Linked DNA regions of Homo sapiens: regions 2, 3, 4, 5 and 6 are each linked to region 1. The links are contacts of gene promoters, found by promoter capture Hi-C in blood cells and fetal thymus (Javierre and others, 2016). All regions are on one chromosome and are shown on one strand. The core of a region is centred on a gene start or on the middle of the fragment in contact, and the rest is flanking DNA. Distances in the headings are between cores, read along the strand shown. Region 1 holds the start of COG6 (component of oligomeric golgi complex 6). Region 2 overlaps FOXO1 (forkhead box O1). Region 3 overlaps NHLRC3 (NHL repeat containing 3). Region 4 overlaps LOC105370169 (a long non-coding RNA gene). Region 5 overlaps LOC105370169 (a long non-coding RNA gene). Region 6 has its middle 93 kb from the start of NHLRC3.

Region 1 (4,789 bases), core at 1,225-3,724:
AATATTCTTCAAAGTAGAACCTATAAGATATGTTTGTGGATTTGCAGGAGATGTAAAAAAAAAAAAAAAAAAGTGACAAGAATCCAAAATTATTCATATGCTTCTTGCTTGACTGGGTAAATGGTGACGTTCTTTAGTGAGAGCGGAACCAGTTTAGGGAAAAATCAAGAGTTCCGCCCATGTTAAGTTCTATGACGTCAATCAGTATCCAATTGGAGGTATAGTATAGACAACTAATTCTACAAATCTGGAGCTCAGTAGATGTCAGAAACAGAGTTATAAATTTGAGAGTAATCATGCTTTTTGCTACTTAAAACCATGAAAGTACAAGATTTTTCTTACAGAGAAAACATGAATGGAAGAGAGAGCAGAGAACCAAGCCCAGGACATCCCCATTGTACACTAAATTCTGCAGATATACATTTCTACACCTCCACTACTGTATATTCTAGTAGGCTTACCCTTTCATGTTTCTATTTGTTATTTTGAAATATTGGCTGGATTGACAAAAACAGTAAAACTATTTATATAAATTCAATTTAATATTTCAGAGGAAGCAAAAATATGTTTACAACTATAAATACTTACTGTACAGAAAAAAAAAACCCATGAAGTGAAGCAGTTTCTTTAGACTATAGCCTTGAAATGTCCTAAGGTCTGGTTCAAAGAAGTAATCAGTAATGTTGAACGAATGAAATCACAGACTCAGATGCAAATTACAGTTCCACCAGTTACTAGTTATATGACAACCTAGCTGCACTCTCTCCATGCTTTATTTTCCTCATGGTAAAAAGAAGGTTATGTGGCCGGGCGCAGTGGTTCACGCCTTGTAATCCCAGCACTTTGGGAGGCTGAGGCGGGCAGATCACCTGAGGTCAGGAGTTCAAGACCAGCCTGACCAACATGGAGAAACCCCGTCTCTAATAAAAATACAAAATTAGCCAGGCGTGGTGGCACATGCCTGTAATCCCAGCTACTTGGGAGGCTGAGGCAGGAGAATCGCTTGAACCCGGGAGGCAGAGGTTGCAGTGAGCCGAGACTGCGCCCATTGCACTCCAGCTTGGGCAAAAAGAGCAAAACTCTGTCCAAAAAAGAAGGCCATGTTATCTATATCAGAGCAAGTAGCAGTCTTAAATGATATAATAAATATCAATATGAGACACATTAAACACTTCATAAATTTTATGATAAAATTAATATTTGTTAAGAAAGAGTAAGTGCCAGGCTCTTTGCAAAGGACTTTACCTGGAGTCTCTCACTGAGTCCTCAAATAACAACCATGAGAAACTTAACAGCAGGATTCCTAATTCCTAAACAGAAGCTGAGATTAGTGAAGGGACTTACTCAAATCATGATGCACACATTTAGTGGTTCTATCTAATAAGTGGTAGTCTCCAGAGCCCTAATTTCTTATTCATTACATTGCAATGTTATTTTTTTACATATCGGAATCAAATTGTTATCGACAGCTTATTTTCAGTTACCTACATATTCACCTATAAAACTCTCTAACTTTGACATATGTTCTTCTTTATGTTACACTGTCATGACCAATTTACCTAGCGACCCACAGAGACAGAAGAGATGGCTGGGTATGTGAGGAGCTGTAAAGTCCAACTTAAGTTTCAGGAGGTACTTGTGAGAGCATGCTGTCAGTTTATCTTCTAAAGAAATACAGCCTGAGCCCACAAATCATAGCGCTTGGCTCAACAAAAACTAGTAGATATGAGTTCATTTCAGCCACGGGCAAAGGTAGTTCTTTCGCGCTGCAAATTATTGCAATTGTTGTCACTTGTCCGTGGAAATGCACCCTTATCCCTACCACTGCTCTCTTGGTCTCCCGACCCCCATTTGCGCTACCTTATCTTGGAATCTGCTCTTTTGCATCTGTTTCATATCCAGTCTTGTGCTCTCCTCCACTCTCCCAGCTCACACAGCCAAACGCCTCCAGGGGTGTTTGGAGGACACTTCTCGAGGCACCACCGTTCACCAATCCCATCCAGAGAGCCTTGAAGGCACCTTTTCAGGTGGAGAGAACACCCAGGAAACCCCTTCGCTTTTCCGGAGGTTGCTGGGGCTCCCCCTTCTCACCGCCCCCGGCGCCCGCAGAGCAGCGGAGCCCGCAGGTCTGGGGTCACTCGCGGTCCCTCTGCTGCCGGGACGAGGGAGACCGCGGTGGGTCCCTGACAGACGCCGCCCCTGGCCCGGCTCAGCCCCGCAGGAACCTGTGACTCCGGCCCCGCCAGCCCCGGTTACCTTGTCGTTGTCCAGCCGCGTCTCCAGGATCTTATGCAGCTTGCGCGACAGCGGGTTGCAGGTCGTCGCCGAGGTCCCGCCTGCCCCATTGTTGAGGCCGTTGGCAGCCCCGGTCGCAGACACTGCGACCACTTCCCCGCTGCCCTCTGCCATAGCGCTGCGCGTCCCGCCCCCTGCTGCCACCTCAGCCAGGCAGGGACCACGGAGGCAGCGCGAGTATTGCGCATGTGCAAATCGGCCGCGCATGCGCATCGGCCCCGGAAGTCTTCGCCGGGTAACCCTGCTTGGGCTCTCAGAAGCGTGAGGGGCGGAGAAGATGTGGGGGGCGGGACAAGACCCTCAGGTAGAAGGAGAAAATTTATAGGATTAGAGAGGACTTTGGAATTATGGATCTGCGACCTTCAGAGCTAATTAGATGACAACCAAATGTAGTATGTAAAATACACCATGACTTGTGCCTGGCATATACATTCAATATAAGTTAACTGAAAGTTTAAATTACATTTGCCTTATCTGAATTCATTTTTTTGAAAATTATTTATTGAAGGCATAGTATGTGCCAGGTACTCTGGTAGGCATTGGAGAATCTACATTGTGTGTCTGAAACAGACAAAGCTGTTAATAGATGTTATTAGGTTGTGATGAGTGCTCAGGGGATGAAGTAGTACAGTGAAAGAAAATGGAGGGAAAGGCCCACTTCACTCAGGGAGGTTTGGAGAGGAGTTGACACTTAAACTGAGATTTGAAGGAGAATCAGAATGTGAGGAGAAATCATTCCCAGGCAGAAGAAAGTGTGTAAGTGTACAGGCCTCAAAACAAGATGAACTTGGCCCTGACACAAATGGACCAGAGCCCATGTAGCTGTAAAGTAATGGATAAAAATGTAACAAGTTGAAAAAACTTCCCGGGAAACTCTGGAAAACAAACATCATTGCTTTTTTTCTTTCTTTTCTCAGTTTTTAAAATTTGGATCAAAATAAAATCGCTGGGCTTCTGTGAATTATTTGTCAGAAACACTATTTGGCTCTTGTCATAAATTTTCCTTGTTTCATATATGTCTATGTACATAGTTATATTGTATATCAGACTTAAGGGAAAATTACCTATTACAGAGGTCACATAAAGAAAGCACTGACAAAACCACTCATCTCTACTCTAATGAAGAAGAGAAGGCCCAACTATCCAAAAGAAAAAAATATACAAAAAGCAGCAATATCTAGGTATGAATTCAACAAAAAATACAGAGAACCTAGATGAAGAAAACTTTAAAATGCTACTGGGAGAACATAAAACTTAAATCAATGAAAAAATATATTGTTCTCTTCAACAGGAAGACTCAATATTGTAAGATGTCTTTTCTCTTTCACAGATAAATTTAAGTTCAGTGTAACCAAAATTAAAATATCAAAGGTTTACCTAAGGTGTATATATCCAAATGAATTTGCATATATACAAAGCAATAATATAATGTAGAGCTTGCAAATATGTACAATTAAAAGGAATGACGATGATAACATGCCAAGTCAGGAGCGGTCATGAAATACCACATATTGTATGACCTCTTTATGTGAAATCTCCCAAATAGGTAAATCAATAGAGATAGAAAGTAGATGAGTGGTTCTGGGAAGAGGAGTGTTGGGAAGAGGGAATGGGGAGTGTCAGTTCATGGTACAGGTTAATTTTTGGGGAGATGAAAATACTCTAAAGCTAAATTGTGGTGATGGTTGCACAACTCTGTAAATATACTAAAAAACACTGAACTGTACACTTTAAATGAATGAATTGAATGGCATGCAAGTTTCATCTCAAATCTGTTTTTTAGGCCAGGTATGGTGGCTCACACCTGTATTCCCAGCACTTTGGGAGGCTTAGGCAGGGGGATCTCGAGTTCAGGAGTTAAAGACCAGCCTGGGCAACATAGCGAGACCCTGTCTCTACAAAAAAAAAAAAAAAAATACGAAAACTAGTCGAGTGTGGTGGCATGCCTGTGGTCCCAGCTACTTGGAAGGTTGAGGTGGGAGTATCACTTGAGCTCAAGCCTGCGGTAAGTCATAATCATGCCACTGCCCTCTACTCTAGCCTGGGTGATGGAGCAAGGCCCTATCTTAAAATTGAAAAAAAAAAAATAAAGCTGTTTATTTTAAAAAGTAAATTGGAGATAAATAGACAAAATGTTTAAGTAATAAAAAATACAAATTTATATTAATTTTTAAAATCTTTATTTAGATATAATTTACAGGCCATAAACTTCACCTATTAAAAGTATAAAATATGACAGCTTTTAGTTCATTTACAGAGTTGGCAAATATCACCATCATCTAATTTTAAGACATTTTCATTACTTTAAGAAGAAAACTGTACCCACTAGCACTCCCCATTTTCCCCTCTCTACCACCCTAGGAAACCACAAATCTGCTCTCTGTCTCTATAGATATGCCAGTTTGGACATTTCATATAAACAGAATTATACAATATGTAACATTTCATGCCTGACTTCTTTCACTTAGCATAATTTTTCAAGGTTCATCTATTT
Region 2 (4,789 bases), core at 1,017-3,516, 1.0 Mb before region 1:
TATTCTTTATACATCTCTGGCCAGCCACATATAGAAATTTCCAGGCTGTCAACTTTTTCAGTGTGACTTGGTTCCAGCATCTTGTATACAGATCTTCGAGACCTAAAAAGAAAATCTTTTTTTTCTGCGTTGATGTATTTTTCTCCCTAGATGATGTTTGTCTTTTTCTTTTTCTTCTTTTTTTTTTTTTTTGTGACAGAGTCTCGCTCTGTCGCCCAGGCTGGAGTGCAGTGACACCATCTCGGTTCACTGCAACCTCCGCCTCCAGAGTTCAAGTAGTTCTCCGTCTCAGCCTCCTGAGTAGCTGGGATTACAGGCGGCCACCACCACGCCTGGCTAATTTTTTTTTTTTTTTTTTTTTTTTTTTTTTAGTATTTTTAGTAGAGATGAGGTTTCACTGTCTTGGCTAGGCTGGTCTTGAACTCCTGACCTTGTGACCTGCCCACCTCAGCCTCCCAAAGTGCTGAGATTACAGGCATGAGCCACCGAGCCTGGTCAGATGATGTTTGTCTTAATAAAGATGTCATTCATTCTTTGAGCAGTTCCAGTTACAGAGCTGGTCCTAATGATATACCCCATGAGCTTAACAGCCCTGGAACCCCTACCTGTCTTATCTGATAAGGGCAAAACTGTGATGAGAAAGAGGGTGGAAGAGAGGGCTTCCCTTGTATGCTTTTGTTCTTTTTTGTTTCATTAAAGATATTTCTTGGATAAACAGTTTTTCTCAATTGCTGTTCTAACAGTCTGGAAAATATAGGTCATGGTTTTGTGACTCTCTACTCTTACTATGTTAGAGATATGATAAAGCATCCATGTTGAGGGAAAATATGTGTTTCTGTTTAAAACCGTGGTTTCCCCATCTTGAAGGTGTTATAGTACTGCCTTTGTAAGTACTGGTGAGTACTTACAAAGTACTTACTGGTGAGGGGCTGGGTTTTTGCTCAGTTAAAAATCTGAAAGTAGCCAAGTGAACCTGGCATCAGGAAAGGGAGGGAACCTCTGTGGTTGTATTTTGTAACTGCAGTAAAAAAGCCAATGCGCATGATTAATCCTCCTAAGTCTTATTTGGGCCTAATGAGGAAAGGAGGAAGAGGGAAACCAGTTTGCATTATGTGGGAAGATAAAGATTTCTTCAATGGTTTGGTATTCTGAAGAGTTAGCTGAGGCCGGGAGGCACTGGGCTTTGTCTCCTCAGTGTTTCGGCCCTCTCCTTTCATATTGGTTTTCCTTTTTTAATTAAAAAATTAGTGCATTTCCTCTGCGGGTACCAGGCTCAGAAGCCTGCCATGCAAGTGGCTGAGCGAAAACCCCTCTTTGAGTGAGGAATCCCCAGCACAGAATGAGAGGGTCTTCATCTTGCAGCAGTGGCAAGGGTGAGAGTGAAAAGGCACCCTGCATTCTGTACCTGAAAAGAAATGCATTTAGAGGCTGGGCGTGGTGGCTCGTGCCTGTAATGTCAGCAATTTGGGAGGCTGAAGCGGGTGGATCATGAGGTTAGGAGTTCGAGACAAGCCTGGCAACATGGTGAAACCCTGCCTCTACTAAAAACACAAAAATTAGCCAGGCGTGGTGGTGCGTGTCTGTAATCCCAGCTACTCGGGAGGCTGAGGCAGGAGAATGGCTTGAACCCAGGAGGTGGAGGTTACAGTGAGCCGAGATTGTGCCACTGCACTCCAGCCTGGGCGACAGAGCAATACTCTTGTCTTGAAGAAAAAAAAAAAGAGAAATGCACTTAGATTTCAAATTTAGTTTGGAAAGAGAAATTATAATTGAATCACCTAATTCCCAGGCTTGTAAATGTTGTGTCCTTCAAAGCTTGAAAGCAAAATAACCACATAAATATTTGGGAGTGGTTCATACAAGTAAACGTCAAATACTTGAGACATTTTGGTTGCTTGGAAGCAAGGTCAAAGGAAATGGTTTGCATATGGTTTAGCTAGAAGCTCTTATTTTGGCAGATTCTTGAGGTAGTAACGGTCACAATGTGGATTTTATTGTTCTATTTTGACATGAAAAAGGTTTTTTCTCTTCTCTAACCTTCAGGATAGAGTTGCATAAGTAACATCAAGATAGGCATGTTCAGTCACCATAATTTTGTATCAGAGATGATGTGCCTTCATGAGCTGTGAGGTTTAATTTGCAGAATCATCAGTTTGGGCCGGCACGGTGGCTCACGCCTGTAATCCCAGTACTTTGGGAGGCCTAGGCGGGTGGATAACCTGAGGTTAGGAGTTCGATACCAGCCTGGGCCACATGGCGAAACCTCGTGTTTACTAAAAATGCAAAAATTAGCCAGGCGTGTTGGCGGACCCTGGGGAGCCAGAGGTTGCAGTGAGCGGAGATCTTGCCGCTACACTCCAGCCTGGGCGACAGAGACTCCAACTCAAAAAAAAAAAAAAAAAAGAATCACCAGTTTGTTACACCAGTAGGTTTCAGCCTGCCATCATTCATACTATACTGTGATTTGAATACAGGAGAAAGTGGGCTCTCTTGAATTACAGTTACCTCATCTGTTTGCAGCAGAACTCTCTCTCTGCAGGGCTACCTCCTAAACGGGGAGTGGGGAGGGAGGAGAGGGGAACTTGCAAAACTTGTAAATATCGATTGGGGTTGTTTGTGTACTTGGCACCAAGCTGGTTGCATTGGAAACTTTTCTCTCTGGATGGGTAGGTATGTAGGCCATCATGAAATTTACATGTGGTGAATGGGAAAGCTTCCTGTGGATCATCCTACCCTGAGAGTTCTTCAATCTGTATGACTGAATTGGTCTCTCCCCTTCAACCTTTTAGGATTTAATTTTCTCTTCAGTGGCCCATTATGACATTTACATACGTTGAATTTGAAAGATTCCCATACTCCCAGTCTCTTCTGTTACCGGTGTGCCTGGAGCAGTTTGTTGAATTTGTGAAATTTTGAGATAGAATGAATTTTGTAGGACCTGAATTTATTTATAATCTTATATTTATATTATAAATATGATGTATATTTAGATGTATATTTATGTTATAAATATAATGTATATTTAGATGTATATTTGTATGTCATGTATTTGTATTAACATGAAGTCTTTCTGATGATGATAAAACACTATTTTTAAACATTTAGCAGTTGATGACTACATTTTAGAGGTCATCAAAATGTTTTATTTTTTCCTCTCTTGAAGTTATTTGGTATAATTAAAAAAATTCATACTAAGGAAATTTATCAGGGTTAAAGATTCCTGTAATTAGGCATGTTTTGATGTTATTGATATCCTCTTTTCTGGTTTTGGAGTGGATACTTTCCCTGCTGTGACCTCTGTGCTCTGTAGTGGTTCTCCTAGGGAATTATATTCCAGTAATTCTGGGTATTTCTTTAAGGTGCTTTGTATTTCTTGAAGTGCCATTTTGATACTTTCAGTGTTCTGAACTGTACCTAGAACGTACTTTTTATAAAAAGGAAGCAGAGTCCATCCAGGCAGAGAGAGTACTGTGTGCCTGTAGTCTTGTCTATTCGCAAGGCTGAGGCCAGAGGATCCCTTGAGCCCAGGAGTTCAAGTCCAGGCTGGGCAACACACTGGGACCATGTTTCTTAAAAAAAAACAAAAACAAAAAACAAAAAACAAAAAACCAAAAAAACTAGGCAGTGCGTGGTGGCTCACACCTGTAACCCCAGCACTTTGGGAGGCTGAGGTTGGCGGATCACTTGAAGTCAGCAGATCACTTGAGGTTAGGAGTTTGAGATCAGCCTGGCTAACGTGGTGAAACCCAGTCTCTACTAAAAATACACAAATTAGCTGGGCATGGTGGTGCATGCCTGTAGTCCCAGCTACTCGGGAGGCTGAGGCAGGACAATTGCTTGAATCCAGGAGGCAGAGGTTGCAGTGAGCCAAGATTGCGCCACTGCACTCCAGCCTGGGTAACAGAGTGAGACTCCATCTCAAAAAACAACAACAATTAACAACAACAAAAACCAAAGCTAAACAAGAGCAGAATCCAGATTATTAAAATAACAATTTAAAAAGCATGATTGTCACAGGCTTCAATAATTACCTGCCTGCTCTTGAGTGTTTAGGTTGGTCTTGGAATCGGCCTGTCCCTGTGCTTGAGGAGTGGACCCTCAGGGTGTCACTGCCCTTCTTTGTGATCTCTTTTTAGCCTACTGTCCTTCCTTTGGTGCCTAACTCAGAAATAAACATTCTTAATCTGTTCAGCTTAATTGAGATTCAAACCTCTTAAAAAGTAGTTTTGTCAAGAGGCGTGTGAACCAGAGCAACTCCATTTTGAATAGGAGCTGGGTAAAATGAGGCTGAGACCTACTGGGCTGCATTCCCAGACGGTTAAGGCATTCTAACTCACTGGATGAGATAGTTGGTCAGCACAAGATACAGGTCATAAAGACCTTGCTGGTAAAACAGGTTGCAGTAAAGAAGCCAGCTAAAACCCACCAAAACAAAGATGGCCACGAGAGTGACCTCTGGTTGTTCTCACTGCCACACTCCCACAAGCCCCATGACAGTTTACAAGTGCTGTGGCAAAGTCAGGAAGTTACTCTATATATATAGTCTAAAAAGGGGAGGCATGAATAATCCACCCCTCGTTTAGCATATCATCAAGAAATAGCCATAAAAATGGGCAATCAGCAGCCCTTGGGCTGCTTTGTCTACGGAGTAGCCATTCTTTTATTACTTTACTTTCCTAATAAACTTGCTTTCACTTTACTCTAGGGACTCGTCCAGAATTCTTCCTTGTGGGAGATCCAAGAACTGTCATTTGAGGTCTGGATTGGGACCCCTTTCCTGTAATAGTTT
Region 3 (4,789 bases), core at 2,173-4,672, 610 kb after region 1:
AAACACTGGGAAAAGCAGGAAGCTGATGTGAGGAAGGGTGAAGAATGATTTGAAAGATTACAAAATGGCAAAGTTCCTCCAAAACCTATAATAAGCTAAAACAAACTGGAAAAAAAAAAAAAAAGGTCTTAATTGGGAAGCCAATATTCACACCAAAGGAGGGAGTGGGAGGAGAAGATGTAGGAGGAAAGCAGGAAATTATCATCTTAACAGCTCAAAGGATTTGGCACATATCCATGTTATCTAAATAATCTTGAAATTTCTTTGAGGTAGACAAATGTTAGGAATAAGTTGAGTTCATGTAAAACAAAAGAAAGAAAAAGAAAAAAAAAGAGAAGGAAGCTCTACAATCCTTAGTTATTTGTAAAAACCTCTTTTACTAAAGTGCTTAGATGCCAGCCATTTTATTCCTACATTTAAAGGCTGACTGACATTAAATATCTTATAGGTAATGGACAGAAGCCAAGTTGGGCTTTAAAAAAGGCCTAAAAGCCTATCAAAGTTTACAGTACACTTCTAACTTTTTATACCTTCTTTACTTGGAAATTATTGTTTTCTCCTCCTTGTCCCTTGGTAAGCTCCTCCTCAGTTTTCAAGTCTGAGCTCAAATTCACTTCTCCTGCGAAGTATCCATGATTCCCTCAGTCAAATGCAGCACTCCTACTCCAAAAGTCCCACTATGCTCCAAGGTCGCTTTTGCTGTGTTGTGACTGTTTGCCTGCTTGTCTCCCCACTAGACTGCAAGCTACTCAAAAGGCAATCCTGCTTTTTCATTTTTAAGTCGTCAAGACACAGCACTCTGTGGGTACTCAAATTAATCAATAGTTCATCTTATTTACAATCTCTCAAGCAGCTCATTTTATGTTAGTTGCACAATCTGGAGGTCTGGAGTTCTTCACATGAAATTTAATAAATTATCATGCAAGCTCATTTTTATTCCCATTTTTTTTACCCAGGGAGAATCAGTCTACCAGGGCAAATAATGAGGTTACCACCTTAGTCCCTCTTCCCAACCCCATTTTTTAGTTACTTTCCTTTCATTAAAATATCCTTATGCACTTACAAATAAAACTAAGTCCCAAGAGGGCAACAAAATATAAGATTCTTAATGATACAAAAACAAATCTTTCTGATACTAGATCTTTTATACTAGAAAAATAAATTCTTGTGCTTGAACATCATTTTTAAGCACTTAGTGAATTGAGAATCTGAACTGCCACTTGAAATATTCCCAGGAAAGAAACATTATGAACCAAATGAAGGAACATAGCTATTCAAAGGGACATATTTTTGTACTTGTTTTGCTCCAATTTCTGCTACATAGACTGCTCCAGTCTTTCTGTCGACTTCTAGGAGATGTGGCAAAACTTGATCTGCTAGTTGGATTGTGCTGATCACAGAACACTCCCCAATGCTTCCCACTGGGGGTGCTGCTACGACTGAGAGCCTGCTAAGATTCAGCTGGGCCACAATCAAGTACTTCCCATCAGGAGTAAACCTAAGGAGAAAGACATTTAACATAATAAATGTCTGTGAAAAAACATAAGGGTATTTTTTTTCAACATTTTAATCCCCTACTGTGCCAAACAACAGTAGGCACCTACTTGCTGAATGATTCTTTTAAGAAGAATTTTAATTTGATCTAATTCTGTTTATGAAGGAATAAGATGTCCATGATGGTAAGCAAAGCCAAAGATTAGCTTAAATTTGTTAAAAGTATCAATATCATAGTCCACAAAATGAAATTAATGAAGAATTGATGTTAGGCTGGGTTTGATTTTTGTCCTGTTTAAACATTTACCAAATAAAGGCTAGAGGAGAGGTCTAGCATATGTTATTTCTTGTTTTCACTTTACCTGGCATCTGAAAATCTTGGATATCAAATTTCTCTGTATATTTCTATTTTCCCCTAATTCAAAATTAACAATAAATATTTTAAACTTTCAGCTAGCTATTCAGAGGAAGTGAGACACATACACTAACTAAAACAAGCATTTTGCAATAAAATGAAACAATTACCTGACTGAAGAAGGTCCCTCTTCTGTGAAACAATTATTCCATGCTCCTAACCACTCCCCAGTGTCTTTATCAAATACTTGGATTCTTTTATTTCCTCGGTCAGCAACCCACACCTGAGAAACACACAAAAATGTCAATTGAAAAATATCCATGAGAAGAAAAAAGGGAAAAGAATGTTTATTTTCATTAGTTTCACCATACATTATCTCACTTAAGAGGATTCCAAAGAAGGTAGTTAAGTCCCATTTTCAGATGAGGAAAAACTAAAGTTCAGAAAGGTTGCCGTCTCTGAAGTGAGCTTACAAATGGGAGAGGCACAACCCAAAGCTGTCTTAACCCAAAGCTTATAATACTCTGTCTACTGTTCTAAATGTGTGAATAACTAAAAAGCTGGAGTACTCTACCATAATGCAGGGGATCAGTAGATAATGAAAACTGACAACATTCATTCATTCCTCTAACAAGCATTCATTTTTCAATGAGTACTACTGGCTTGTCAGCTCCTGGGCCAGGCAACATGACAAAGAAAAGCAGCCTTACTTCTCAAGAGCTCAATATAGCAGGATGTGAGGTATTCATTCAGATTGCAGTATCATTAAACCCATACCTGCTATTACCAAGGTATGTACAGAGTGCTGAACCAACTGAAGAAGCCTGAGGTATTTTAGCAACAAATAAAGAACAGTAATAGGTTTAATTTAGGTTTGTTATAGGCTGTAATGGGTTATTAAGGAACTTGTTCTAAGACAAGAAGTGAGATGCATTCTAAATGACATTTCATGGCCACATGCATGCAGCTTAAAGCATAAAGGGAAATGGTTTTTTTTATTTTTTGAGATGGAGTCTCGCTCTGTCACCCAGGCTGGAGTGCAGTGGCGCAGTCTCGGCTCACTGCAAGCTCCGCCTCCCGGGTACACGCCATTCTCCTGCCTCAGCCTCTCCGAGTAGCTGAGACTACAGGCGCCCGCCACCACGCCCGGCTAATTTTTTTGTATTTTTAGTAGAGATGGGGTTTCACCATGGTCTCGATCTCCTGACCTCGTGATCTGCCCACCTTGGCCTCCCAAAGTGCTGGGATTACAAGCGTGAGCCACCGCACCCGGCAGGAAATGGTTTTTGATGACTTGTGGCCAGGGTTGTAGAGAGGTATGAAAGAATGGACTGGGAGTGGGTCAGTCCTCTTTACTTCTACCTCCCTGCTTTTGGTCCTTTGGATTTCTTGGGTTTGTGGATTGAGAGATAATTTCTTCACAGGTAACCCTGATTACAGCTTCATCAATATGTGTGAATTTTGGTAGCCATTGAATTAATCTCCAATCAGAAACAAATCAAAACTCACTACACCATTTAAGAAAGGTTGTTGATGCCAAAGTAAAGCAATTTCTCAAGGTCTTTTCCTGATCTATGGTCCTTTAGTAAGGATAGGTTTTCTTAAAGAGTTTGAGACTAGTATCCCAGACAAATGACCAAGGAAGAAGTATAGTTTACACCCTAGGATGGAATGATACTTTAGATTGTTAGCATCATCTGTCCTGCTCAACACTCAATGAATTTTGATTATGGGAACTCCTGTTTAACACATAACAACAAGTCTGGAACTGACTAACCTTTCATATAGGGTTGTGGTGATGATTAAATGAATTAATTATGTAAAATGCTCAGAACAGAATTGCTATTGTTATAAAACACAATTTTGTATAATTGACACTCTTTATCACTCAGGAATGCCAGAGTACCCCCATCAGATGATTTCCAAGGCCTTTTAGAAGGGCGTTCCTCACCATGATGAATTTACCTGGGTCGAGGTCTCGCATGTTCTGAAATTTGATTTTTTTTCTTAGCACACAATGAGTCACCCAAGCTCAGGAGGATAATGTGCAAAAGTTTAATTCAAAGTTTCCAGTTCCCAATTTATATACAAAGTTCACATGGTTGATTAACGTCTTATGGCAGATCAGAAGATTTAATGATCAAAACATTCTCATTTTTGTCAATCAATTATGATTAGGAAGCCAAGTCATAATTAGAAGTTTGTTTGCTGAGCACTGAATCAGAAGTAGAAATGGATTAAATGCCTAATGGTATGAAGGCAAGTAGCCTAATGTACCCATTGTGTGTCAAGACATTTAGTCATTTAATAAATAAATATGACTACTGTGTACTAGGCACAAAGAAATAAAGCAAAAGAGATTCAGTAAGCACTTTCAACAGCCTGACATCTATTAGGGGAGACAGACAAATGATTATAATATAGCATGATAGTTACTATGATACGAAGTACAGGCTGCTATAGGAAAAGAGCAGGAGAAACTAATATACAAATTTTTTGGTGGCGGTTTCGTTGTGAAAAGGTAACCTCAAAGAAGTGAGATCTATGCTTAGAAATTGAGTAAATGCAAAAGAGATAGTAGTGAGTAGGGTAGAAAAGAGAGAAACTGATTGAAATTTGTTGGCTAAAGCTTTCTGTTCCCTAAACAATGTGGAGTTAGTGAGAACAAGAGTTTGCCTAGGTGACTCTTTTTCAGACTTCCAAGGTTAACCTCTCCCACTCCACTTTAGATCAGCACATTTTTTTCTTGAGAAGTGAAAAGATATTCAAACACTTTTAGTGGAGTTTTCCCAGTAAGAGGGCAACTTTTTCTTTCAGGTAACTTTATGTTCAGATCCATTATTTGTGCCTTCTATCCTTTTAAATGGTACAGGAAATCCATTTTGCTCCTTTCTAAATGTTTGGGGAACCCCCTCACTATAGGACTCAAACACTTGTAAG
Region 4 (4,789 bases), core at 899-3,398, 590 kb after region 1:
TACTGGTGAGATTATAAAATAATGGAGCAGCTGCTGTGGAAAACAGGATGGTGGTTCTTCAGAAACTTAAACATAGAATCACCATGTGATCCAGCAATCCCACTTCTGGGGTATAAATCCAAAAGAAGTGAAGGCAGAATCTTGAAGAAATGTTTGCACACCCATGTTCACTGTAGCATTATTCACAATAGCCAAGAGGCAAAAGCAGCCCAAATGTCCGTCGACAGATGAATGGATAAAAAATAATTGGCATATATATACAGTAGAATATTATTCATCTTTTTAAAATAAGAAAATCCTGTTATATTCTACAACATGGATGAACCTTATATGCTAAGTGAAATAAGCCAGTCACAAAAGGACAAATACTGTATGATTACACTTATATGTAATATCTAGAGTAGTCAAAATCATGGAAATAGTAGAATTGTGGCTGACAGGGAATGCAGGGAGGGGGAATAGGGAGTTGTTCTATGAATATAGAGTTTCAGTTTGTAAAGATGAAAGAGTTCTAGCTATCTGCTATTCAACAATGTGAATACTGTTAACACTACTGACCTGTATACTTAAAAATGGTTAAGATGGTAAATTATATATTATTTGGTTTTTACCAAAATTAAAAAATAAAGCCAAAAAACCTCACTGCCTGGCATGGGGCATCTGTTAAAAAAAAATAAAAGGAATAAACTTTCTCCTCCTCAAGCCTGATAACGTGGCTTTACAATCAGATATAAGAAGCGACTACAGAAACAACTAAATGTTTTATAATTACTCAAGAATAAGGAGTCCAATATTAATCATGCCAAAACAAAACCTACTGAAAAAGAGGGAGGAGATTTTTTTCTAAAGTTCAAATGAAAAAAAAAATACTGAATAACTCATTCGTAGGGTGATTTGTTCAGTTACCTACATTTTTGTAGCTAACTCAGTCTGGGTGTTACTCAAAATTAGGTCACCTTGTAAAAGCAAAGTGTGTAGAAGACACCACCTTCTCTTAATTTTTTCTTGGTTAAAATTACCTCAATAGGGACTGAGTAGGTAAAGATGTGTGTTGTTTATAGTCTGGCATGGTAGTTCAGAAACTCAGTTTGGTTTGGATCCAAAATGACTTTTTAGAAATTCCTGATCTTCCCCATCTGCTGCCATCCCCTTGGGCTCACATCCACACACACAAAAAAATGTAAAATCCAAACACCCAGAACTCCAAATTTCTAAGCATGAAGGTCACATTGGATAATACATTACATTAAAGGGTTGGCAGAAGGCAAATTACACAAATGAACAGGGGAATTCAGTGAAAACAAATGATTTATCATCATTATGAAAATCTAGTCACCTACTAAGCTATCCAATATAGTAGCCAATAGCCACATGAGACAATTTAAATTAATTAGAAATATGGTAGAAAATTCAGTTCCTCAGACACACAAGCTACATTTCAAGTGTCTAAAACCATATGAGCTAGAGGCTACCCTATTGAACAGCAGAGATACAGCATATGACATATATGTATAAGATATGAAATATATGATATATTATCACCATCACTTCTATTGGAGAGCTGAAAACTAGGCATCCAGTCCGTGGTGTGCGTGCCAAATATGAATGCTTACTGAGTTACTGATTTAAATACCTCATCACCTTTTTACGTCATTCTTGACTTTTCATCACATAAAAAAGTGAACATTTCTTTCTGTTATATTACATTTTTGTTTAAGATATGTTGTTTTGTTTCACTGACAAGGATCCATGGAATGAAAATAGAAAATATTTTGTGGAGGGAGGGGGACAAGATGTCTGACTTGATGCAACTAGGAAGTGCCTCTCCCACCAAGAGAAACCAAAATATCAGGTAAACCATCACGTTTCAAACAGATCTCTTGAGTGGAAAAACTGAGTGCTGACAGAAGGGTGATACAGACATTGAGGTGGAAGAGGGAGGAAGTTGGGAACCCTACATGGAGTTGCCAAGCACTGGGACCAGCTCCAGACCTTAAACAGGTCTTGAGGAAGGGGTGAGTGAAAGAACTGCAAGGCAACACTCTCCTGCTGTGGACCTCCAAGATCCTAGCTGCAAGAGCTCCCACCACCCTTACAGATATTTGGATTGGCAAGGGGAGCTGCCCAGAGAGTAGACAGAGGCAGAGTTTGAGCCTGCACGGAGCCCAGAAGGTTTTGCGGGGGGCAGCTACAGCAAAACACGACCATCAACAACCATCTCCCTGTGGCTCTAACCTCTGCTGACTGCCAAGGCCAGGAGAGAGCAGGGCTATCTTTCCCATGGGACCAGGGTGACTCTAATCTGCCACGCCCCCTTCTCTGCCAGCCCCTCCCAAGTCTTCCGGCTGGCTGCTCCCACAAAAGCATACACATAGCACAGCTTCCACTGCCCCTCCTGAGTGCTTTGCTGGTGGCCTGGGAGCACTTCGGCCCCCCTGCATAGCCTGTGCTCAACCCTAAGAGGTCAGAGGACAAAGCCACAGGTCCAGTCCCAATCCCCCAGAGTTCGGACACACAGCTGAGGAATATCCAACTGAGATCTATGGCCAGAGCTAGATTGGGGTAAGAGCCCCTACTCTCCAAACACTGAGAAGTATAAGGTGTGGGTTTGTGGGCTGGAGCAGGAGCAGAACGTGCTTCCCTCTGCAAGACCAGCCAGGGAAAGGTGTAGCCTGTTTGTCAGCCAAAGCCTCTGCCAGAAGGAGCCCCATGGCCCAGAACAACCAACAGCCCAGCAATCTGTGTGCAGGTGGAGTGAGACAAAACTAGCTGGTCATGCCAGCTACTAGGATAGACACCGTAAGGAGATCCCGTTGTGGGAGCACGAGTGGAATGGTCCCCACAGCCATCTGCTAGGAAAAAAAACCCAAGCTGCAGTCACCACACCAGCTGCATACCCACAGCAACACTGCCCTGCCCAGGGATCCTCACCCTTGACCTACTGCATCAAGGGGGCACCTGTTGACATATCCCACAACCTGCTCTGACTCTGCCAAGCACAGAGGACCAGTGGGTCCCCAAGGACCTGCGGGTCTCCTGGTGACCTAAACTTTGGCTTGGGTGACACTAAGGGAAGGGAGAACACAGCCTACCAGCACCCCACTTTGGGACTAAGAAAATGTAAGCATGGCACCAGTGACTGGAGGGGGCTCTCCAAGACCCAGGAATGGATTTGGTGAGGTTATCTCTTGCCAACCCCCGTCTAACTCACCCCAGAGTACTGCTGCGAATGCACCAAAATATAAGAGGCGTGTGACTAAGAGCCTATCTACCAGCCCTTACTCTTTTCAAAAAATAGTCTTTTTTATCAGCTTACATCATGCTTTTTCTTTTTTAACAAATTTTTTTAATTAAAAATGTTTTTTATTTGCCCTTACTCTTAAGTGCCACGTACTAGATCACAGCCTTAATTAAACCACCAAACATAAATTCTTTCACCATACATCACCAGTGAAACCCAATGCAGGAATCTAGCCACAAAGAAAGATCCCGCACAGAGCCTTGACCCTCTGAAAGCACCCAGGAATGAAGTCAATCGACTATAGGCAGCATACTCCAGTCAAACCCTCAAGGGAAATAAAGAATATAAAAACAAATAGCCCCATCCAAACAACAGCCATTTCAAAATGATAAGGCAACACCAGCCCTCTCATATGAGAAAGAATCAGCCCAAGAACTCTGATGATTCAAAAGTCAGAGCATCTCCTTACCTCTAAATGATTGCACTAGCTCCCCAGCAATGTCTGGTTCCCTACCAGACTGAAATGGCTGAGAGAGATGACAGACATAGAATTCAGAATCTGAAGGGCAAAAAAGCTCAATGAGATTCAGGAGAAAGTTTAAACTCAATCCAAGGAAGCCAGTAAAATGGTCCAGGAGAGATGACATAGTAATTTTTAAAGAAAGAAACAAACTTTCTCTACAACTCATTGGCATTCCTGAGAGAGAAAAAGAGAGAGTAAGCAACTTGGAAAACATATTTGAGGATATAGTCCACAGAAATTTCCCCAATCTCACTAGAGAGGTAGACATGCAAATTCCAGAAATCCAGAGAACACCTGCAAGATATTATACAAGACAACCATCCCAAAGACACACAGTCATCAGATTCTCCAAAGTCAACAGGAAAAAAAAAATCATAAAGGTGGCTAGGGAAAAAGGCCAAGTCACTTACAAAGGGAACCCCATCAGGCTAACAGCAGAGTTCTCAGCAGAAACTTTACAAGCCAGGAGAGACTGGGGATGTATATTTAGCATCCTTAAAGAAAAGAAATTCCAACCAAGAATTTTATATCCTGCCAAATTATGATTCACATGCAAAGGAGAAATGAAATCCTTTTCAAACATGTAAAGACTAAGGGAATTCATTACCACCAGACCTGCCTTACAAGAGGTACTTAAGGAGAGAGTTCTAAATGTGGAAAGGAAAGAACAATATCTGATACCACAAAAACACACTTAAGTACATACACAACAGATCCTACAAAGCAATTACATAATTGAGTCTACAAAACAACCAATTAATAACAAAATGACAGGATCAAATCCTTACATATCAACATTAACCTTGAACATAAATAGTCTAAACGCCCCACTTAAACGGCACAGACTGTCAAGACCCAACCGTCTATCTTCAAGAGACCCATCCCACGTGTAAAAACACCCATAGTCTCAAAATAAAGAAATGGAGAAAAATCTATCATGCAAACAGAAAGCAAAAAAGAGCAGGGTAACTATTATTACATAAGACAAAACAAGCTTTAAACCAACATAGTCAAAAAGGACAAAG
Region 5 (4,789 bases), core at 736-3,235, 580 kb after region 1:
AATCCAACCTCCGACAAGGAGTTTCAACATGTGGTCTCTGGGCAAGATGGTCACCCTGAGTAATAGAAAATATAAGAAAGGGGGCCAGGCGTGGTGGCTCACGCCTGTAATCCCAGCACTTTGGGAGGCCGAGGTGTGCAGATTACAAGGTCAGGAGCTCGAGACCAGCCTGACCAACATGGAAATCCCGTCTCTGCTAAAAACACAAAAATTAGCTGGGCATGGTGGTGCGTGCCTGTAATCCCAGCTACTCAGGAGGCTGAGGCAGGAGAATTGCTTGAACCCAGGAGGCAGAGGTTGCAGTGAGCCAAGATCGCGCCACTGAACTCCAGCCTGGGTGACAGCGAGCTGCATCTCAAAAAAAAAAAAAAAAAAAGAAAGAAGAAAGAAAGAAAGGGAAAGGAGAGAAAGAGAGAAAAGCATTGCCTGTGGTAGGCTGGGGACAGCGAAGAGCTCAGGGAGGCCAGAGAAAGACCCACCCATCCCAGCAACACTGAATCAAAAGTTCAGGTGGCTGCTTGTCAGTCAAGAAGGGATCTTTTTCAGCAGTCCCATTAGCTCTTAAGTGTCCCTGTTTGGGGAGGAAAAAGCTCCCCATGTCCCATGATCCTGTACGTGCCTAATTATGTCACCCATAGCCATCAGCAAAGAGTGCAAGGCAGATTAATCCAAAGAGAATGGCAGTTAACACCCCATAGTATCAAATCCGTTCTTAGCCAGGAGGAACTTTACTGGGAGGGGCCTCACACCCCCTACATCTTAGAAGGGACTCTAACCCTGCTAAGTTAGGCCTCAAATCCAACTTCAGTCATGCATCCTTGCCTTTTATTAAGAGAGGCCTTTAACCCACTCCATCTTAGGAGAGATTCTAACTCTCCTAAGTTGGGCCTCTAACTCTATCCCGTTTTTCACCCGGGTACACCACTACTTACCCAAAGTTAGCCAATTGGTGCTCCAGTCCATTTCCTTTGGGTCAGAAGTCTCCTCAGTATCATCCCTTTGGGGTTTGCCAGGAAGATGTTACCAGAAAGGGGTCCTGATCCAGATCCCAAGAGAGGGTTCTCAGTTCTTGTGCAAGAAAGAATTTGAGGCGAGTCCATAGAGTAAAGTAAAAACAAACTTTTTTTTTTTTTTTTTTTTTTTTTTTTTTTTTGAGACTGAGTCTCGCTTTGTTGCCAGGCTGGAGTGCAGTGGTGCGATCTCGGCTCGCTGCAACCTCTGCCTCCTGGGTTCAAGCGATTCTCCTGCCTCAGCCTCTTGAGTAGCTGGGACTATGGGCGCACACAACCACGCCCAGCTAAGTTTCGTATTTTTAGTAGAGACAGGGTTTCACCATGTTGGCCAGAATGGTCTCAATCTCTTGATCTCATGATCCGCCCGCCTCGGCCTCCCAAAGTGAACAAGCTTAATAAGAAGGTAAAGGAATGGCCACTCCATAGGCAGAGCAGCCGACCACTGATTTTAATTTTTCTTCTTTTCTTGCACAAATATTTATAGCTTTATCTTTCTAAGCACTGTTTTAATTGCGATTCACATATTTTGAAGTGCTGTATTTTCATTTACTTCACGATATTTTCTTATTCCTTTTGTGACTTTTTTTCTCTGACACATGAGTTATTTACAAATGTAATATTTACTTTCCAAATATTTGGTAATTTTTCAGATGTTATTTTATTATTGACTTCTAATCTAATTCTAATTAAATTACAAGCATATTCTGTATGCTTCCAAATATTTTAAATTTATTGAGACTTGTATTATGCCTCAGCATGTGCTCTATCTTAATGACTATTCCATATGCATTTGAAAAGAATATGTATCCTGCAGTTTTTTTGGATACAATGTTCTATAGATATCATTTTGGTCAAGCTTGATAATATTGTTCAGATCACTTACATATTTATTAAGTTTTCCTTTTGTCTAGTTGTTTTATAGATTGCTGAGAGATGGGTGTTTAAATTTCCAACTATGAGTATGGATTTGATTTTTCTTTTATTTGTCATTTTTCCCTTTAATGTATTTCTGAAGCATTATTAGTTATATACACATTTTGATTCTTAGGTCCTCCTAACACTTCATCCTTTTATCATTATAAGCTTTCTCTCTTTATCTCTGATAATATTTCTTGTTCTGTAGTCTACGTTGATAATACAATTACTTCAGCTTTCTTCTAACTACTTTTGTAATAGCATATATCTTTACATCATTTTATGTCGAACTATCTTTTCTTTATATGTAAAGTTCATCTTTTGTATACTGAATATAATTAATTTGCTCTTTCACTTTTATCCAGTATGACAGTCACTAATTTTTCATTGGGGTATTTAAACCACTTACATTTAATGTCATATTTAATACGACTGGGTTTAAGTCTAACATAATGCTGTTTTCTATTTGCCCTATCTGTTCTTTTTCCTTTTCCCCCTCTTTTCCAGTCTTCTTTTGGAATTGACAATTTGTGTAGCATTTTACCTTCTTCTACTGATTTATCACAAATACATTTTATTTCATTTTCAAATGGCTGCACTAGAATTTAAAATATTACTCTGTAAGTTGTCAGGATCTACTTTCAAATAATATACCTCTTCTCATATCCTTAAAACATGTTTTCATTTCACCATATCATCTTTTGTGATATTTTTGTTATATTTTTTACATCTACATATTATATAAATACATCAATACATTGTTTAAGTATTGCTTTAAACAATACTTAAAACTTTAGAAGAAGTTTTTTATTTTTATGCATTTTATTTTTTATTTTAGATTCAGGGGAAATATGTACAGATTTGTTACCTGGACAAATTGCATGACACCGAGGTTTGGGCATCCCATCACCCAAGTGGTGAACATAGTTCTTGATAGGTACTTCTTCAACACTTGTCCCCCTCACTTCCTCCAACTTTTGGAATCCCCAGTGTTTATTGTTCCCATCTTTGTGAACCCAATGTTTGGTTCCCACCCATAAGTGAGAACATGTGGCATTTGTTTTTCTATTTCTGTGTTAATTCACTTAGGGTGATGGCCTCCAGCTATATCCATGTGGCTGCAAAGGACATGACTTCATGAGGTTTTATGGCTGCATAGTATTCCATGGTATATATATATACACCACATTTTCTTTATCTAATCCACAATTGATGAGCACCTGAGTTGATTCCAGGTCTTTGCTATTGTAAACAGTGCTGTGATAAACATTCAAATGCAGGTTTCTTTTTGGTAGAACACTTTCTTTTCCTTTGCGCATATACCCAGTAATGAGATTGCTAGGTCAAATGGTAATTCTATTTCTAGTTCTTTGAGAAATATCTAAAGTGCTTTCCATAGGAGATGAACAAATTTTCATTCCCATCAACTGTGTATAAGCATTCTCTTTTCTCCACAACGCTGCCAACATCTGTTATTTCTTTGACTTTTTAATAATAGCCATTCTGACTGGTCTAAGATGGTGTTCCATTGTGGTTCTGATTTCCATTTCTCTGATGATTAGTGATGCTGAGCTTTCTTTTCATATATTTTTTGGCCACTTGTATGCCTTCTTTTGAGAAGTGTCTATTCATATCTTTTGCCCACTTTTTAATGGGGTTATTTGGTTTTTACTTGTTTAGTTGTTTAACTTCCTTACAGATTCTGGGTATTAGTCTTTTGTCAGGTACATCATTTGCGAATATTTTCTCCTATTCTGTAGATTGTCTGTTTACTCAATTGATAGTTTATTTTGCTGTGCAGTAGCTCTTTAGCTTAATTAAGTCCCACTTGTCAATTTTTGTTTTGCAATTGCTTTCAAGGACTTAGTCATACATTATTTGCCTAAGCCAGAAGAGTATTTCTTAGGTTTTCTTCTAGGATTTTTATAGTTTGAGGTCTTACATTAAAGTCTTCATTCCATCTTGAGGTAATTTTTGTAAATGGTGAGAAGTAGGAGTCCAGTTTCATTCTTCTGCAAGTGGTTAGCCAGTTTTCCCAGCACCATTTAATAAATAGGGTGTCCTTTCTCCATTGTTTACTTTTGTCAACTTTGTTCAAAAATCAGCTGATTATAAAGGTGTGGCTTTATTTCAGGGGTCCCCTTCTGTTCCATTGGTCTATGTGTCTATATTTGTACCAGTACCATGCTGTTTTGGTTAAGGTAGCCTTGTAGTATTGTTTGAAGTTGGGTAATATGATGCCTCTGGTTTTATTTTTTTTGCTTAAAATTGCTTTGGCTATTCAGGCTCTTTTTCAGTTTCATATAAATTTTAGAATAGTTTTCTAATTCTGTGAAGGATTGTCTTGGTAATTTGATAGAAATAGCTTTGAATCTGGAGATTCCATTGTATAGTATGGACATTTTAACAATATTGATGTTTTCAACCCATGAGCATGGGATGCTTTCCCATTTGTTTGTGTCATCTATGATTTCTTTCAGCAGTATTTACAGTTCTCCTCATAGAGAGCTTTCAACTCTGTGGTTAGATGTATTCTTAGGTATTTTATTTTTGTGTGTGTGGCTATTGTAAATGGGATTGCATTCTTGATTTGACTCTCAGCTTGAATGTTATTGTATGTAGAAATTCCACTAGTTTTAGTACATTGATTTTGTATCCTGAGGTTCTATTGAAGTCATTTATCAGGAAGAGGAGTATTTGGTGGAATCTTTAGGGTTTTCTAGGTATAGAATCATATCATCAATGAAGAGAGATAATTTGACTTTCCCTTGGATGCTTTTTATTTTTCTCTCTTGCCTGATTCCGCTGGCTGGGACCTCCAGTACTATGTTGAATAAGAGTGCTGAGAGTAGACATTCTTG
Region 6 (4,789 bases), core at 1,143-3,642, 520 kb after region 1:
TTAGGGGGACAAAATTCAGCCCATAATAACGCCTAATGCCATGTCCATTGCTGACATTCCTGCTGAGAAATGGTCCCTAAAAAAGAGAAGCTGTGGTCAGTCATGGTGGCTCATGCCTGTAATCCTAGCACTTTGGGAGGCCAAGGTGGGTGGATTACTTGAGGTCAGAAGTTCAAGACCAGCCTGGCCAACATAGTGAAACCCCATATCTACTAAAAAATACAAAAATTAGCTTGTGTAGCACATGCCTGTAGTCCCAGCTACTTGGGAGGCTAAGGCAGGAGAATCACTTGAACCCAGGAGGTAGAGGTTGCAGTGAGCGGAAATCACACCACTGTACTCCAGCCCGGGCACCCAGAGCAAGATTCTGTCAAAAAAAAAAAAAAAGAGAGAGAGAGAGAGAAGCTACAAACAGGGCTGAAAGTCTCCCAGCAGAAGAGGCCCAACATTGAGCTCAGGGGACTCTGTGTTGGGTTGTTACATTGGGTGAGTCCTGCTAAATGAGGTGGAATTTGCCTGAAAATTCCAAATCTCACTCCATACTTCTCAAAAGGAGCTCAGGTATTTGGTGCAATAATAGATTATATTTTCGTGTGAATTACTTTCCAAATTTATCCCAGGGCCTTGAGCACTGGAGGGTGTGTCTGTGAGTGCAACAGGCAAAATGGTACCTAATAAGCCATTCTATCATCTCGGGACTATGAGGACAATATAAAGTTATCTGCTGAGCAATGAGCCGTGTCCAGGAACTATTGGTCAGTGGTAATGGTCATAGGGTTTGGCCTCTGTGCTAATAGATGCAAAGCTTCCCTGCATACAGTACTCTGGTGACAACTGATTTATGGTGTCCACAAAGAAGCTTCTCTAATTAGTACCAGAAGCATCCTGCAGTATCCTGAATGCTCTGGAAGAGGCCTGCTGTGTAAAACTGTCCCCTGAAATGATGGCATTGTCCTCTATTTGTGGTGTCATTAACACGTTAAAATAAAACTCTTGACAGGTATTTTTGTTTCATGACTAAGAGTTGATAGCTTTGTGAATTGCAGTATGTTTTTATGAGAACACATAACTCACTGGGATATGTGCTGTAGAGCTGCTTCTTCCATGAGGCATGGACTGAGGAGGTCAGACAGAGACATAGACAGAAACACCCCTGCTTGCCTAAAGCCACTCTGTAGTTGAAATGCTCCACATGAAGCTGGAGACAAACTTCTCCTGGCTGCCATCTGCTTTCAGCCCTCTCTACTGGCAGCTGAGAAGTAATGGCAGAAGAAGCACACATTGAAAGCAAGACATCTATTATAATCTCCTGTCCTAGCTCTTGAAAGAGTGAATAGCTAATAAAATGATCAAAGGTGCTTTGATATGACTCATTCTGGCTTACATGGCTGACTCCTTTTACAACTGCTGAGATGATTCAAAGGCTGATCTCTCTTCGAGGTTCTGCAGAGAGGCTCTTCAGAGGGAAATAGAATCTGAAAACTTTCTCAAATGCATTCCAAGTTTAAAAAACAAACAAGGTTTGGAAAAAAATACTGAGTGGAAAAAAAAATGAATTGCCTTAAAAAGTCATTTTCTCCTAAAATTGGCTTGCGAATTACCCTAATTATTCATGAGATGATGGCTGAAAACGACTAATTTTCAAAAATGCATAACTTAGAAACCCATTCTTCTCTTTTACCTATATTTATGCTAATTGAAGAGGTTATTGATTATAGAAAAAGTAACTTCAATTACTTCTAGAGAATAGTTTTATTTCTCAGGTTGAAAAAACTAACATTTTAATTTTTAGATTAATAATACATAACTTAAGATGCATTTAGAATCTAGGCAAGCCAACATACTGATTGGTTTATCAACAACAATTCTAAGTGGTGCCATAGAATTATGAATAAAATTGAATTGAGCTTCAGCACATAGACATAGCAGTTGAAAATTGTAACAATCTCTGATCCACACTACATTAGAGTAGGGAGTGGCTGGTAATTTGCCTCAGTAGTTCATGAACAATGCTGGGGAGAAGGGTGCCTAGAGTTGGCCAGAATATCTGGCATGAGTGACCCCACGGGTGGAAGGCAATAGTCAACCATATCAACTTTTGCCCTACCTTTGTAACCTTAAGGAAGGTAATTTATTCTATCTCTTTCCTTGACAATATTTTTCCCACCTTTTATGGTCCTTTCTATATACAGGACAATGAAAGTAATGAGGGAGGTATAGATAGTGTTTCTCACATTTATCTCTGGTGTAATCTTTCTCCTGACTTTCAGACCCTTTTTCTAAGGCCTCTGAGGAAATTCTCTAGAAGAATAACAGGAATTCTAAAACCTGCATCTTCAGACTGAATTCATGATCATCTCTCCCCTGTAATTGACTCTTATTTTTTAATTAACTTAATAGCTCAATTAGATACCACTGAATCATCCTGATTCTTTCTTCTCTCTCTCTCTTCCTGGATCCAGTCACTGCATTTTTCTTAAATTCTTCCTCCTCTCTCATACCTACTATCACTGACTTGGTTAAAGTCCTTAGTATTTATTTTGTTCATTTGCTGAGCTTTTGTGGGGGCTAGGCACTAATATTAATGAACTCACATCTTTGTTTTATAAATTCTCAGTATCTACAAATGTGGCAGAAACTGTACTAAGCAATGACGATATAGAGCTGAAAGATACTAGCCCAACCTTATAGATCTGGCTAAAAAGAAATATTCAAATAAGTGGAAAAAAAGGTGTGCTCTCTATTAAGTCTAATTGGTAGAAAACAAGCAGTGGGGGTGCAGAATCAGGAAATATTTGAAAATATTTATGCCGGGGTTTACGTTTACGTTAGGATTTTGAAGGATGAGTAGAAGTTAGCTTGGTAAAGAAGTAAAAAAGATATTCCAAGCAAAGGGGATGGTATGTACAAGGCATAGGCACAGAAAAAAATCACAGCAAGTTTATACAACTGTGAGCAGTTTTGCAGAGCTGAAGGATAAGGAAATAAAGAAAGTGGTAGGAATATTGTAAAAGACATTGAAAGATTTTTAGAATGTGGGATGGTCTTAAAATATGTCAGTGAATTTTTTCACAGTCCTCCAAAGGTGGTTCCTAATTCCCCAACCCTTGAATGTGAACCAAACTTAATGACTCACTTCTAACGAACAGAATGTGGCACAAAGTGATGCTACGTGACTTCTGAGGCTAAGTCATAAAAAGGTTGGCTTCGGCATGGCTCTTTCTCTCCTGGGTGCTCGCTGCAGAGAAAGCCAGTGTCATGCTGTGAGAACACTCAAGCAGGCTAAGAGAGGACCATGTGGTGAGGAACAAAGGCCTCCTTCAATAGCCAGCATCAAGTCGCCAGCTACAGGAGGGAGCCACCTTGGAGGTGGATTTTCCAGCTCCATTCAAGCCGTTAGATGACTGCAGCCCCACGTGACAGCTTCATTGCAATCTCGTAAAAGACCTTTAGCCAGAAATACCCAGCTAAGCAACGCCCAAAGTCCTGATGCATGAAAACAATGAGATTAGTAAATGTTTCTTATTGTGTTAAGTAACTAAGTTTTGGGATTCTTTTGTGTGTAACAAGTTGTCTTGGATAACCAAGACAAAACAAGAGTGATGTGATTAGACATGTTTCATGAAACTTTTGTGGCATTGTGAACTATAGGGAAATTATTGGAGTGGAGGTAGAATGAAGGCAGTTGAATAAGTTAGGTCTGTCACATGAATTAGGTAGGGATGTGACATGGACCTGAACTAAGGCCTTGGCTTTAGGATTAAAGAAGAGTGAAAAACGTTTGAGAGATTTAGGGAGGAAAAAGCAACAAAATTTAATGAATTTGTGAGGGATGAGAGAATAGAAAGCACAGGAGATGGGGAGATCACTTACGATAACGGGGAATAAAGAAGGAAAAGCAAATCAGGTGAGGAAATAAGCTTAGTTTTTAGTTTTGAATGTACTGAGTTTGATGTGCCTGTGGAAAATCAAAATGATGTCTTAGTAGAGGTGTGTGTGTGTGTGTGTGTGTGTGTGTGTGTGCATGTGTGTGTGTGTGGATACAAAAACAATCTCTACCCTAGGAAAGGAAAATGGGCTGAAAATAAATCAAAGGAGAGTGGAGAGTGTAATATAAGTTGGCAAATGGTAGAACATTAGATCACTTCAACATTTAATGATAGAAAAGGATACAGGGAGCAGGGGTGTGAAAGATTCAACAACAACAACAAAAATTAAAGTGGAGAGAAAGCATAAAAACCCAAAAGGGAGAGAATCCAAAGAAAAGGTGGACAGTGAGCCAACAGAGATAAAGACTAATAGTTGTCTACTCTACTGAGCAACCAGGAAGTTACCGGTAAATTTGACCATGGCAGATTCAATAGGACAGATGGTGACAGAAGCCAGACTGAAGTGAGTTGAAAAATGACCAGATGGGAAATGCAGAGGCATTGAATGCAGCGTGTGTGCTCCAGCAGCTCACTGTGAACGGGAGCAGGGGGAGCCTCCCAAACGCTCCCTCTGCCTTTGTTTTGCCTTCCCTATTTCTGTTCCACGTTGCTACAAGCGTGATCTTGTCAACATCCAAATCTGCAGAGGCTCCTGATTAAACATGGTAAACCAGCCCATATAATTGTCTCCCTTCCTTCACAAGATTTCACTTAAATAAATGTAGAGAAAAAGATTTAAGTACAAACCAAAATAACCAGAGACATAGCAGGTGAGAAATATCAACAGATTTTTGGAAGAAGGAAAGGCAAAATAGGAGTAGAAAGAACTTAGAAGAAAGCTCAAGTGCTGTAGGAGACTA

Evidence for each region. Contacts are between HindIII fragments. The CHiCAGO score rates a contact against its expected background, and 5 or more counts as called.
Region 2: a fragment that was not itself captured here is called in contact with the fragment with the promoter of COG6 in region 1 in 1 of 17 cell types (fetal thymus); the score reaches 5.4 in fetal thymus.
Region 3: a contact is called between a fragment that was not itself captured here and the fragment with the promoter of COG6 in region 1, in 14 of 17 cell types (megakaryocytes, erythroblasts, M0 macrophages and 11 more). The highest score is 11.1, in megakaryocytes.
Region 4: a contact is called between a fragment that was not itself captured here and the fragment with the promoter of COG6 in region 1, in 8 of 17 cell types (megakaryocytes, M1 macrophages, M2 macrophages and 5 more). The highest score is 8.2, in megakaryocytes.
Region 5: a fragment that was not itself captured here is called in contact with the fragment with the promoter of COG6 in region 1 in 1 of 17 cell types (endothelial precursors); the score reaches 6.4 in endothelial precursors.
Region 6: a contact is called between a fragment that was not itself captured here and the fragment with the promoter of COG6 in region 1, in 2 of 17 cell types (endothelial precursors and M2 macrophages). The highest score is 5.6, in endothelial precursors.

Annotation. Positions count from the first base shown.
Region 1 is chr13:39,653,347-39,658,135 of GRCh38, reverse strand. It overlaps COG6 (component of oligomeric golgi complex 6), which reads right to left and starts at 2,474. Exons shown (of 19, transcript NM_020751.3): 1 at 2,257-2,474. The coding sequence starts at 2,409. RefSeq lists a silencer at 2,161-2,210. The HindIII fragment of the contact is 8,496 bases long and covers 1-4,789 here.
Region 2 is chr13:40,649,904-40,654,692 of GRCh38, reverse strand. All of the region lies in intron 1 of FOXO1 (forkhead box O1), which reads left to right. Among named protein-coding and RNA genes, the nearest start is that of FOXO1, 14 kb to the left of the region's middle. RefSeq lists enhancers at 1,936-2,456, 2,457-2,978. The HindIII fragment of the contact is 898 bases long and covers 1,818-2,715 here.
Region 3 is chr13:39,044,383-39,049,171 of GRCh38, reverse strand. It overlaps NHLRC3 (NHL repeat containing 3), which reads right to left. Exons shown (of 7, transcript NM_001012754.4): 6 at 2,020-2,132; 7 at 1-1,498. The coding sequence ends at 1,246. Among named protein-coding and RNA genes, the nearest start is that of NHLRC3, 8.3 kb to the right of the region's middle. The HindIII fragment of the contact is 2,116 bases long and covers 2,365-4,480 here.
Region 4 is chr13:39,060,352-39,065,140 of GRCh38, reverse strand. All of the region lies in intron 1 of LOC105370169 (a long non-coding RNA gene), which reads right to left. Among named protein-coding and RNA genes, the nearest start is that of NHLRC3, 24 kb to the right of the region's middle. The HindIII fragment of the contact is 5,224 bases long and covers 1-4,760 here.
Region 5 is chr13:39,077,507-39,082,295 of GRCh38, reverse strand. It overlaps LOC105370169 (a long non-coding RNA gene), which reads right to left. Exons shown (of 5, transcript NR_187783.1): 2 at 933-1,036. Among named protein-coding and RNA genes, the nearest start is that of NHLRC3, 41 kb to the right of the region's middle. The HindIII fragment of the contact is 227 bases long and covers 1,872-2,098 here.
Region 6 is chr13:39,129,055-39,133,843 of GRCh38, reverse strand. No RefSeq gene overlaps it. Among named protein-coding and RNA genes, the nearest start is that of NHLRC3, 93 kb to the right of the region's middle. RefSeq lists an enhancer at 3,037-3,558. The HindIII fragment of the contact is 3,061 bases long and covers 862-3,922 here.